Linked DNA regions of Homo sapiens: regions 1 and 2 are each linked to region 3. The links are contacts of gene promoters, found by promoter capture Hi-C in blood cells and fetal thymus (Javierre and others, 2016). All regions are on one chromosome and are shown on one strand. The core of a region is centred on a gene start or on the middle of the fragment in contact, and the rest is flanking DNA. Distances in the headings are between cores, read along the strand shown.

Evidence for each region. Contacts are between HindIII fragments. The CHiCAGO score rates a contact against its expected background, and 5 or more counts as called.
Region 1: a fragment that was not itself captured here is called in contact with the fragment with the promoter of GXYLT1 in region 3 in 1 of 17 cell types (megakaryocytes); the score reaches 6.7 in megakaryocytes.
Region 2: a fragment that was not itself captured here is called in contact with the fragment with the promoter of GXYLT1 in region 3 in 1 of 17 cell types (non-activated CD4 T cells); the score reaches 6.3 in non-activated CD4 T cells.

Annotation. Positions count from the first base shown.
Region 1 is chr12:42,477,820-42,482,027 of GRCh38, forward strand. All of the region lies in intron 1 of PRICKLE1 (prickle planar cell polarity protein 1), which reads right to left. Among named protein-coding and RNA genes, the nearest start is that of PRICKLE1, 110 kb to the right of the region's middle. RefSeq lists enhancers at 1,359-1,448, 3,458-4,069 and a silencer at 2,944-3,144. The HindIII fragment of the contact is 1,540 bases long and covers 1,644-3,183 here.
Region 2 is chr12:42,402,259-42,406,775 of GRCh38, forward strand. All of the region lies in intron 9 of PPHLN1 (periphilin 1), which reads left to right. Among named protein-coding and RNA genes, the nearest start is that of PPHLN1, 78 kb to the left of the region's middle. The HindIII fragment of the contact is 3,002 bases long and covers 1,559-4,517 here.
Region 3 is chr12:42,143,109-42,147,632 of GRCh38, forward strand. It overlaps GXYLT1 (glucoside xylosyltransferase 1), which reads right to left and starts at 1,766. Exons shown (of 8, transcript NM_173601.2): 1 at 1,318-1,766. The coding sequence starts at 1,538. RefSeq lists silencers at 1,154-1,383, 1,464-1,963 and an enhancer at 2,124-2,193. The HindIII fragment of the contact is 13,899 bases long and covers 1-4,524 here.

The DNA of each region.
Region 1 (4,208 bases), core at 1,164-3,663, 340 kb after region 3:
AAAAGTAGGCTGCATTATAATGGAAATAGAACTATTCAAAGTTGGGGTTATGACAGAGTAAAACTTTTTTTATGATGCTTCTTTTTTCTTTTGTAGAACCATGCTTAGATGAACTAACAGTGGCCCTGCCCTATACTTTTTTTTTTTTTTTTTTGGTACAATTTTATTTGGACGTTACTTTAAACTTCCAAAAAGTTGCAATAGTAAAAGAACTCTGATGCATCCCTTACCCAGACTCATCAATGGTTTACATTTTGCTCCATTTGCTTTTGCATCATCATCCTCCCTCCCTCTCCCTCTTTCTCTCTCATATGTATACACACTTCTGTGGGATCCATTTGAGAGTGTATTTTTTTACATTCTTTTACCTAACCACAGCTCAAAACATCAGTATTCTTGACTATTCTAAGGCAGATTTATTGTCTTGGTCTTAAAATGCTGTAGCAAACTTAATCATAAATGAATGTCAACTATGCATTAACCAATCCTGTGCTAAGTTTGGAAATAAATCAATAGGCATCCTATTTCTCCAGTGTCTCTCTATAATTTTGAATGTAAATAAACCTCATAATGAAGGAGAAAGAAAAGCAAAACAGTTTTCAGAGATGGGTTTGTTCAGGTTCCAAATAGTCTGACCATTAAGGAGGTGTGTGGAGGGCACAAAACCTTTTAACAGCTACCACCACCATCAAAGATGGCATTGGGAGGGGGTGGTCAAGCACAAGGAACTGCTGTTAGAACTTAATTCTCTAGCAGGTTCATGAGTTCTTTGCAGACACTATTTTGAAAACTAAAAGCCTACTATCAGAGTCAAGTAGAGAAATAAATGTCAAACAGAAAAGAAGGGTATGGTCACAAGGGAGGTGAGAAAGAAGCCCAAGGTCATGTAGAGAGAGCTGGGATACTCTTTTTTTTTTTTTTTAGAAAGGCAAGGAATATCATGGGGCTATTCCATGCAATAGAAAATGGAACAGTTCCATTTCCCTCCTTTGTCCTTTCTCTCGCCTCTTCCTTCAAAATAGTTAAATAGCTATTTCTCATCATTAAAAACAAAGACAAGCAGCTAACAGATGTAAGACTTCTCAATCATCATTGTCAAGAGAACATCTGACCCAAAGGATAAGGGCTATACTTAGGGAATGGAATCTGATGCTCTCAGCATTCAGTAAACTTGGTCCTGATGTCTTCAAAGCTTTGACAAGTCAACAAACATCTTGAGACCTGATTTTAAAAAATAGCCACTATTTGCCTTCCAAAGATGGTCTAAGGATGTTTTAAAACAGAAAAGAATTTCACGACCATAAAGAATTAAAGCTCCTATTGCAACGTACCAATTGGCATTGCTGCTTCCACTGGGACTAAACAGACTTTCTTGAAGCTAACCAGTGACAAATGGAATTGAAACAATATGTTAATAACAAAACCTGAGTTTCATCTTCTTTTTGAGCTTGCGAGAGCTCTAGCCTTCTGAACGGCAGACAATTTTGCCAAGTTATTGACCAACGTTTCCAGCTGCTTCGGTAGCAGCTTCTAACCAGTCCCCACATAAAGCCTCCAATACCATACACATAGCGTGTGTGCGTGCACACATTCGCACACAGCATGTGTAGTGGTCTATGGAGCATGACAGTTTTTCTAGGTAAAGCTTGTTCCCCAAATTCAAGTATGGCCTTATTCATATAACACAGTGATATAATGAGGGGTTCCTTTGTGAAATTTACTTTCTAGGTTCATTCACTGCATTCATTCATTCATCCTTATATTTAAAGTTGTTATTGAACGGTTCTGGGGAATGCCAAAAGGAGCCAACTGACATTTATTCCATTAAAAGCCAGAACTTAGAAAGAAATGTAGCCACCGGGTGCAGTGGCTCATGCCTGTAATCCCAGCACTATAGAGGCTAAGGTGGGTGGATTACTTGAGGTCAGGAGTTCGAGACCAGCCTGATCAACATGGTGAAACCCCATCTCTACTAAAAATACAAAATTAGCCGGGCATGGTGGCGCATGTCTGTAATCCCAGTACTTGGGAGGCTGAGGCAGGAGAATTGCTTGAACCTGGGAGGCAGAGGCTGCAGTGAACCAAGATCATGCCATTGCACTCCAGCCTGGGCAACAAGAGCGAAACTCCATCTTAAAAAAAAAAAAAATTCCATTATTCATCTCCTTGCTTTCTTTCGTGGTGGCACGTGTAAAAATTATATGTGATTTAGCCTTCGGCTGATCATTTGTTTTCATTTTGAGCACAGTAGAAAACACTGGCTTCGGGATTCAAGAAACAGAATGGCCCCTGACCCATACATTTATGATAACTAGCAAACTTTTTGTAGGTTTTTTTCTCCCTGCTCTCATAATGTTTTGATCCCTGCTACCTGTCTCTTATTAAGGTGCCTTTCTCTTTTGCCCACAGCCAACAACCTCCAAACCTTTCAAAATTTGTTGCTTCCGGTATTAGGCAACCATTCTTTGAAAAAGTTTGTCTAAAAGTACACAGAAGCTGGGCATATGCCTATACTCTCAGCTACCTGGTGGCTGAAGTGGGAGGATTGCTTGAGCCCAGGAGTTTGAGACCAGCCTGGGCAATACAGCAAGACCCTGTCCCAAAAAAAAATCTATGTAGTAATTATGGCATGGACAAGGGCTTAAGGACTTCTCCTATAAGCACAGTAACCACTGGTGAAATAAGATAGCATACAGTGTGAGAAGGTGTTATTCAAACTAAAGAGAAGGTTTATTATTTCGTTATGCTATTTTGGCCACTTGGGGATCATTTCATTTTCTACTGGTCTGTATGCTGCTTCCAGGATAGCTAAGGATTATTATCTTGATTGACCTTGACATATACATAAATGAGCCATAACTATGTTTCTGTAAAGAGCTTAATAAGTCAGCACAGTATATGAAGGTCCAGAGGCAGTGAAGAGTGGACGGTTTTGCTAGAAGACAGATTCTTCCAAAGAAGCAACAACAGATGGCAATGGTGTCTGAATCCTATTTTCAAGAATTACACATTTCAGGCAGAAAACTGTGGGCTTATCACTACAGGCAATGGGAAGCTGCAAAAGACATGAATGGAGACTGCCACAAGATACTTCTGGGTCTTAAAGAAGATTAATATGGTAGTGATGGTCAGGAAAAAGATAAAGAACCTGAGAGGGGCCAATTAGTACACTGTCCCTAAGAAAGCTTACACATAGTGACTTGGGGAGGGAAAGTAAAAGGAACTAATAGGAAAGGAAGAAATTGGGCCAAAGACAGTTTTGAGTATTAGGTGATTGACATACCAATACATAAGTACCTTAGGGCAACTCAGAAGGGGAGTGAGGATTTGAGGGATTTCAGGAGAATGAGTTTAATCAGATACATATTGAGGTTGTAACTGTATATCAGGTCTGGTATGATTCCTATTATTCATAATTTTCTTGAACCAAGTCACCAAATCAAAATCATGCAAATAGAAAACAGTAATTGTCAGGGCCTGCCATTGAAAATGAAGTATAAGGTCATATCCCTAATTACATTTTTTTCTCCAATGCAATCCCACTCTAGTTCCTATATGAAGACTACCATGGCATTGTAAGATCCCTATGAAAAAGTATTTCTTGTGTGAACATGCCCAGGGAAGTTAGAAATCCTCTGATCACCAAAAGCCAGAACAGATACTGATTTGTGAAGTCAGTTAGGCCAACATTCCCTAGGTGTCCCCTGCTGCTAAGTGCCATCCGTGGGCTACAAACTGCTTAACAGCTTCTTTGTTAAACTGCTTGTTAACAAGGCCTTAGTGCATGGAAGATGCAGATCACAGGTTCTCCATTCAAAAGCTACTCCAATTCTCCCAGACTACATATGCAGGTGAATTAAATTTAACTACAGACTAATTTAGCAGTACAGAAACATGTCACACATCCATTCTTTTCACAATACAAAATATACCACCCTTATGGATATACACATTTCCTTGTTTAGGATGTCCTTAACTTCAATCGAGATGTGAATTTTCCAGTAAAAGAGACACTAAACTGTCATTTCTTTAAAGGTTTCACACACTCAAGGGGCATTCAGTGCTTACTGTCTACTAAAGACAAAGTCACTGCCAACAAAGCCCAATTCAATTTCACTTATTTGAAAAATAAAAACATAATGAAGTTATCAGGAGATATTGTTTATGAAACATTCCTTTACTAAGTTTTCCATACGAGCAATTAGTGG
Region 2 (4,517 bases), core at 1,810-4,309, 260 kb after region 3:
TGTTTCTGTAAAGACAATTTTTATTATAGTCATAGCTATGCCAGCTTTGTTATGTGAAACTTTACTTCTTAGCCATTTAGGAACCCCTTTCCTTATTACAATTAGCTAAGAAAAATTGAGTTAATTCAGACTTTATTTTGTTGATTGTTATTAGCTTTATTAAGAGTCTGTTGTAAGTCTAAATCTACTTAATATATTTTTTATTTTGAATTCCGTACTATCACCATTTGTGCGACTATATGGGCTACTTTACTAGCTTTTCTTCGCTTTTCCCTCCAAATAAAAGGGTTGGGCTGAATAATCTTAGGTCTCTTCCTGATCTAAATCATACTGAAAATTAAAAGTTAAATATTACTTTTTCTGTACACAGTTGTGTGTAGTAATTTCATATTTAACTATAGAATTTTAAGTTTTTTTTTTAAACCTTCTTAAGGACACAGGGCTCTTAAATTAAAATAAGTTTTTAAATAACCTTCGAATATACCACTGTTATGTGTCAGTCAGTAATTAGTATTTGTTGAGTTAATGAATTGTGCAGAGCAGGTTTTCTTCCGTAGATAGGGTGTTAGATTTAATTGTAAGTGTTGTAGCTGTGGCCATTTTCTCTTCTTACAGTGTCTCATTTCAGCTACTACTCATTGTCTGATGATTCCCAACACTCACTAGCTCTTGCTGTTTCTCATATATAATCTGTTTTTGTTTTACATTTAAAGAGGCTAGAAGTAAAGATTAGTGAAATGTACAGTCTTGAAAATGTTAACTAGAGTTGTGGACATGGAAAATAATCAGCTTTTAGCATATGATGCATTCCAATGAAATTGTTTTCAAAGTAGTGGCAGCTGTATCTATTGTTGTAGGTTCAAGATCTAAGCATTTCATAGTAACCTTACATAATAGAAACATTCTTTGTTTTTCCTTTTTATCAGAGCAAGTAACCAATGTTCTTTAAAGTGCAGCTCTCACCACTATCTTGTCTAGACATCAAGTCTACCCTACTGTATTTAACAATCCATTATTACCAACCACTTGTTCAGATTTTACATACATACAGTTAGTAAAATATACTCACATAAGATGTACCTCTGAAAGTCTGGATTCCCAAAACAACTTGAAAAGAGATGATTTATTTTGACCAAATTTCAAAGAGTTTGAAAGTTACAATTTACCAGATTCTGGTCATGCTGTTACTGCAGAAGCTTGTTGAAGTAAAAGTATAAAGTTTTTATTTTAAGAGAATCTAAAAGCTATCTCTATAAGATAATTTGTATCATATTTAAAAGGAAGCATCTCTTAAAGGTAATTTAGTTATTTTGTACCTGATATCTCTTTAAGTGGGAAGCTTGATGAATCTGTTAAGATGTTATATTTACATCAAATATAAAATCTAGATAGTACAGATACCAAGTCTTATTAGAACCATACTTAAAATGATATGAGTACCTTAAGGGATGAGGCCATCTTGCACCTTATCCTTGGGGATGTTACCACTGAAACAAAAAATACCCAGTTATAAAGCAGTTCCAGTAAAGGTAATCCCCATGGCATAAACCCAAGTATAAGCTTCATTTTCTTACCTCTTCTCCTCATCCACTCTCTACCAGTGTTAGGTAAGGATTTTACCTAGTGGTTCCAAATTACTGTCCCATGCTACTCAATTTTGTTTTCTTAGGTCAACAATTTTTTTTAGTCTCTGAGTATTTTATGGTAAGGACATTTATAAATGGCATGGTATAATGAACACTTAGTGTTTTCACATCTTAGAGACCTTTTCCTCTTTTTTTTTTTTCTTTTTTTTGAAACGAGGTCTCACTGCATTCTCTAATTATAAGTTCTCTCACAGAATTGACAACCTATTATATGTGAAAGCCGTTTATGTATGAAAATTACCATACAGGTGGTTAATGGTAGTGTTAAGTAATACTTTCTGCCTGTTTCTTTGCAGCTTTGCAATATTGATTACTTTCAAATTACTTCTTAAGAATATTTTAGGCTGGGCACAGTGGCTCACGCCTGTAATCCCAGCACTTTGGGGGGCCCAGGCGGGTGGATCACTTGAGGCCAGGAGTTCGAGACCAGGCTGGCCAACATAGTGAAACACCATCTCTACTAAAAATACAAAAATTAGCCCAACATGGTGGTGGGTGCCTATAATCCTCGCTACTTAGGAGGCTGAGGCAAGAGAATCACTTGAACCTGGGAGGCAGAGGTTGCAGTGAGCCGAGATTGCGCCCTTGCACTCCAGCCTGGGCAACAAGAGCAAAACTCCGTCTCAACAACAACAACAACAACAACAAAAATATTTCATAGCAAGTTTGTGATATAGGTTTACCTCTGAAAGGTGATTTTCTGGTCAGTGTCAAGGTTTCGACTATTTGCCTCTTACCTCTTCACTTCTTTTGTTTTGTTGTTGTTTATTTCCTTTTCCCCACCTCCTTCCTAATTTGTTCAAAATGAAATGTAAAAATACTATTAAAAAATATTTGTTTTGCAGCCGGGTATGGTGGCTCACACCTGTAATCCCAGCACTTTGGGAGGCTGAAGCAGGCGGATCACAAGGTCAGGAGTTCAAGACCAGCCTCACCAACATGGTGAAACCCTGTCTCTACTAAAAATACAAAATTAGCCGGGCGTGGTGGCCCATGCCTGTAATCCCAGCTACTCAGGAGGCTGAGGCAGGAGAATCGCTTGAACCCAGGAGACAGAGGTTGCAGTGAGCCAAGATCATGCCATTGCACTCTAGCCTGGGTGACAGAGTGAGACTCCGTCTAAAAAAATAAAAATAAAATAAATTTTTTTTGCTTATTTTGGGGGACTTTGTGATTTTGCTTTCACATTTTTCATTTGGCTTGCTCTTTTTATCTCAGTGTTCCTTATCTGTTTTGCTTGTATACACATAGCATAAAAAGATTAATGTTTCCTCCTTAGAATTCTCTACCGTCCTTTTCCTAAAGCATAAGTTGTTCTCATACTTTCCCCTTCATCTGTCATCTCTCATTTTTAAGATGTGATCTGTCTTGAAACATCTGCTGTCCTCTCTTAACTATTGTTTAATTCAGGTATTGTGCCAGGAGAGAACAAATGTGTATGTTTTATATGCACTTGAGTGCTGACTACAATTACAGTGTGAGTTAATTGATATTCTCAGTCCATTTATAAGAAACATTTTAAAAGCTGCACTAAGAAAATCTCATGTTTTACTTAAAGGTAACTTGAAAGTAAACACTAGAAGTGAATTGATGATTGTCTAATGTCTGGTTTATTGGGAGCTAATTATGTTATCTTTCGTTGTTTTTCTTTCCTTACTCTTCCTCTTTCTTTTTGCATTTTTTATGTTTTTGGGGTTTTAAAAAGAAAACCATTATAGGAAATCAGACAATGCAATATATGTTATTTCTGTTTTGAATACTTATTTACATGAGTTAGCTGGGGGAATATTTGTAGGGGTTTTTTGGTCTGCCTGAAAGCCAAATCTTAAGATTTTTAATCCCTCAATTACTGGAACTTGGGGGAAAAGTGAGCAGTTCAGTGTAATTTAATTTTCCAGTTGGCTGAAGTTAGCCATGCTAAACTCTGCTATGTTTGTTATTATGTTTTGCTTTTTTTTTAAAATCACTTTTAGTGATGTATGTAATACAGAAAGAAGAGTGTTCAGAACCTAGTTGTTAATCTGAGTGATTTTTTCTACAAAGCAAATACTTGTAAGAACTACCATTCAAGGCAAGAAATAGAATATTACCAGCACCCAAGAATCCGTTCATCTCCCCTCCTAACCTTTACCCCCTTCAAGGTAACTACTAAATTGATTCTTAACATTATAGTTTAGTCTGGTTTTTTTTTTTTTTTGAGACAGAGTCTTGCTCTGTCACCCAGATTGGAGTGCAGTGGTGCGTTCTTGGCTCACTGCAAACTCCACCTTCCGGGTTCATGCCATTCTCCTGCCTCAGCCTCCCGAGTAGCTGGGACTACAGGCACCCGCCACCATGCCCGGCTAATTTTTTGTATTTTTAGTAGAGATGGGGTTTCCCGTTAGCTAGGACGGTCTCGATCTCCTGACCTCGTGATCCGCCTGCCTCAGCCTCCCAAAGTGCTGGGATTACAGGCGTGAGCCACCGTGCCCGGCCTCTGTTTTTGAACTTTATACAAATAGAATCATATGGAATATAGTATTTGTGTCTAGCATCTTTTGTTCAAAATTGTGTTTATGAGATTCGTTGATGTTGTTACATGTTATGTATCTCCTTATGGTTTTAATTTGCATTTGCCTGATTAGTGATGCTGAGGACTGTTTCCTGTGGTTATTGGCACATGAATATCCTTTTTTTGTAAAACGGCTATTGAAATTCTTGTCCATTTTTCTAATTAGTTATCTTTTTTTCAGTTGATTAGTAGAAGTTCTTTATATATTCTGAATACAAGGTGGTTATATGTGTTGTGGATATTTTTCCCATTTTGTGGCATTCTTTTGATATCTTTGGGGGAATAAAAGTTCTTAATTTTATTGTAATCTATACTTTTCA
Region 3 (4,524 bases), core at 516-3,015:
ATCTAAGACCAAGGCACTAAAAATGTGATGTTAACATCAGTCTAATTTCATTCAATATTTAATTAAAATGTTGCTTCCTTACAATTCTACCCCATATAAAAATAATTCCTTTTCCATAATTGCAAATGCTTCACAATAACATACTAGGCCATAAACAGTTTAGCTTCAACCTGTCATTTTTCACGAGCTCATTCAAGTCTTCAGTGACTGCTTTCTCCCAGGACAGACAACTGAGGGTCCTGATGTAGGAATTACCCTGACTGTAATCAAATCTCAGGGTAAAAACATGACAAGTCCGCTTTCCACGCTGCTCCTCTGCCCAAACTTTCCCCTTTCATTCTGGGAATGACCATCGACTCTCAAAATGATGTTAAACAACAGCCCACAACTGATCTATACTCCCTCTTCCGACAAACCCTATACTTCTCTATATCAAAGCAGCATTTGCCAAGTCTTGGTAGGGAGCACTTCAGGTCATTCCCAGAGAGATGCCCATACATAAGGTGGAAGTGTCCATGTTGCAAGGCAGTGCAAACGCTCAGATTTCAAGCATTCATAATGCGTTGACAGAAACATTTTTTTTCTATTTAAATCTCATGTTGATTCCCACTCTGGCAGTGATTACGTCCTAAGTCATTACGTCGCTTTTTAAATACCAATTTGTCAAGAAAGGTAACTCCATCCCATCCAACAACAGACTTGAGCACGCCAAGTATCGCTCATTTTTCTTAATTTGCTCTAAGTTTCTTAATAAACTGAGTGTTTCCAAAAGAAAATTTCACAACCCGCACAAATGCCATTTCCAAATTTAACTAACCATGGCTAATACTTAGAAGTGTAAGCGTTAACACAGGAAAATCAGCATGAGGGACAAAATACACACACATATACACTCACACACACACACACAATCCTTAAACACTGAACTAGGGCGCCAGCCTCATGTTTAAATATCTCAACTTGAACTCCACTGAAACAAGAGGAAATTCTCACTAGCCAGGCAGCAGTAAGGCTTTTGTGGACACCTCTTATTTTCAAAGAACCCTCTTTTTAAAAAGTTGAAAATTAATTTCTAACTGCTTTAAAGGGCGCATGACTGGGTCAAAAGATAAACACAGAAAGTGTAGGACACTCTCAGGCGGGAGCAGCGCAGGTTTAGCCCCGGCCGGAGGGGAAGGAGGGAAATGAGTGAGGGGTCAGAGACAGGAGGAAAGACGCGGGAGACGCGGCACCCACCGGCGAGCAGCCCGGGCTAGGCCGAGCCCGCGCCCAGCGCCCCGCGCCCGCCGCGTCCCCCACACCGGGAACTGCCCGTACCTGTCCGACACGCCGGGATGCGCTGCGGGGCCCGCGACGCCGGCGCCTCTCACGGCGCCGCGTCCGCCGCCCGCGAGCCAGGAAGCCACCGCGGCCTGCGGCTTCCCGCCACCGCCGCCCGTTCCTTCTTCCAGGGACACGGCGAGCTGGCTGAAAGCGTAAAGGAGCGAGCAGAAGCCGCAGGCCACACACAGCACCACGACGCGCAGGTAGCGCCGCATCGCCCCGGCCGCGCTCCTCCTTCGCCGCCGCCGCCGCGCCCGCCCCGACGAACTGGAGCGGAGGGAGGGGCACCGCGCAGCCGCGGGCGCAACAAGTTCCTCACCCGCAGCCGCCGCCGCCGCCTTGCGCCCGCTCCCTTCCTTCCCTCCCCGCCCACCACCTAGGCGAGCGCAGTCGCGGCTCCGGAGCCGAAGGACTACCCGCCCGGAAGCCTGGACACCGCCTCTGCCGCCGCGCGCTCAAGGGTCAGCGGCAGCGACGCAACCCCGCCCCTCCCCCGGGCGGGAGGGCTGGACGCGCCGGCGCAGTTCGCGTGGGAGGGACGCAGGGCTGGCGCGCAGAGGGTGGTGTGAGTGCGCGGAACGCGGCGCGCCTGAGGGCTATAGCTAGCGCAGGCCGACGCGCAGGTGAATGGGAGCCCTGTGGGTCTCGACCGCCGAGAGAGGGGGAGCGAAAGCCTCAGGGCTCTGGAGGCAGTTGACCTAAATTCTAATTATGGTCCTTCCACATGGTAGTTTGTGACATTGGGCAACCTAAATTCTCTGAGCATGTTTCTTCGTCCCTAAAATGGAGCTACTATCCTCATCATGGGGTGGTTGTAAAGATTAAACTGTTTAACGCTCGAAAACCGCCTAACACTTAGAAGACACTTGACTAGGCCAGTTTCCTCTCCATCCTCCCCCAGCCTCTAAGTTTCTGTGATACTATAATGTGCACGAGCCATTTTCACCCCGATAAGCTCATTGCTTCGTGTGTTTGGTATGCGGACCTTACCTCTTGCCTCCCAGCAGACAGTGAGTTCCTGTAAGGCAGGGCTCTTCCCTTTGACCTTTTTGACCTCCCTCACAACTCATTATTTTCATGTGCAAAACAATTAGTATTCTCTCCACAGAGCTTCTTTCTTCCCCAGTTCTTCTCCCTCTTCTTCTGTGTTTCCACTACGTTCATTCATTGACCATTTATAAAGCATCACTTGTGCCAAGCTCTGTGTGAGTACCTAGGGGTATAAAGAGGCCTAAGTGGAGCGTGGGTGGGACAGCGGATACTTGTAAATAAGCGCAACGCAGTGATAACAGACTTAAGATCCAGGCCTGTAAGGGTGTGGGCATACACACAAAGGAACAATCAGTTCTATCTGTGAGTATGGTCAAGAGAGACTTCATAGCAAAGGTGGCGCTAGAGTCTTGAGTCGGGTAAGGGAAGTAATTCCAGGCTGAAGGATCAATAAACAGGCTCTTGTGTAGGGAACTGTTGAGAAGTTTGATACCACCAGCTAAGTGAATGCAAGAGAGGGTATGATGAGCGATAAGCGCGTAGAAGGGGCCAGATATTTGAGTGCTTTGTTTAGCACACCAAGGAGTTTGAATTTAATCTGCAAGACATTAGTGAACCATTGAAGGGTTTTTAAATAGGGAAGTAACATGATCACAATTGCATTTTAGAGAGCAGATTCTGGCTGTAGTGTGGAGGCTGAAACAGAGAGAGGAGAGATTGGAGGCAGAAAGCAGCACCAGTGCCAAAAAGTGAGGGAAGGGATACTTAAAAATACACACACACACGAACACACATTCATGGGGAAAAATCATGCGTTTAACTGCTGAAATTGCATCTGGGGCGTTGAAAAGTTTGGCCATGAGATACAAGGTGGGGAAATGCTGCGCAAAATAGTAGCAGTCTCCATTTGGATCCTTGGCTCCCTATACCAAAAAAGTAGTGGTTCTGTGACCATGATAAAGTCACTAAACAAATTTAAGGTTCAACTTCCTCCCCTTCTTGCTTTACCTGATAAAAAATGAACATTAGCATGCTATCAAGATGTGTAAAGAGAATGAGAACATACATTTATGCATTCAATAAACATTTATTGAACATATTCTACATGCCAGACAAGGGGCTCTGATGCAGAGTATTCAGAAATAAAAGGAGTGTACTGCTCTCAAAGGGAAAACAGGCAAATAGAAACCACAAGTATACTAAATTAATACTTCCACTACACCTTACACTTCTTAGAGAAATGAAGATAAACTTAACGAAGTATCCAGAATGATAGGAAAAGCATTGATAAGAATGAAAATACCTTTTGAGAGAAAGCTGAAAGATATGGTACCAAGAAACTAGAGTAAGAGCTAGTACTCAAAAAATGTTTAATTTAAAAGATACTAACTATAACTCTTCTCTATTTCAACAAAGAAACTAAACGTAGTAATAATTAAGAATAACTCCTTGACCCACAGATGGTTAAAATAATGGAATGGCAAAAAGAGAAGGCAAGCAGTTTTCATTTCTGCAACAATTTTATGAAAAGAGCAAATCAGGAAAAATAGCCACTCATTTATTGACGTCAGGGTACTGGACCATATCATCCTTTTAGGTTCCTTCTAATCCTGTAATTTTCTGTTGAAAAATTATATAAACCATTCCAAAAATAGAAATGATTTTTCTATTACTCACACATCATCTTAACTGGCTATCTTGGAGGAGCTGTGTGCATGCTGGCATCCCCTCTAATTATTAACCGGATTTACACGTTGCATTTTGATATTCCTAAAATTAAGTTAATGAAAGCGCTTTAACATATTTGATGTCACAACAGTTAGGTGTTTCTTCCATGTACTGCGTGAAGGTATGTATTCCTAAATCTATTTTTTTCTCTCTATACCAGTCTCTTAATTCTCTAATGATAGACTGATATCCAAATTTTTAATCCATGTTGACCTTCATTCATCGTATCAAATAGGTAAATTTAGGTGGAGAAAAAGTAATTTAAAATTATCAATATTTGTTGTTTAGGAGATAGAGATCTCCATGATCTGGAAAATTCTCTGATTCAGAATTAAGCCACATCTCAATAATTTTATATTTAAAAGATTAATCTTGATTTTTCGTATAGCTCTTAGTACATCCTGGATATATAATAGGCGTTCAATTAATGGGCGTTTTCTTTTTTTTTTTTTTTTTTTGAGATGGAGTTTTGCTCTGTCACCA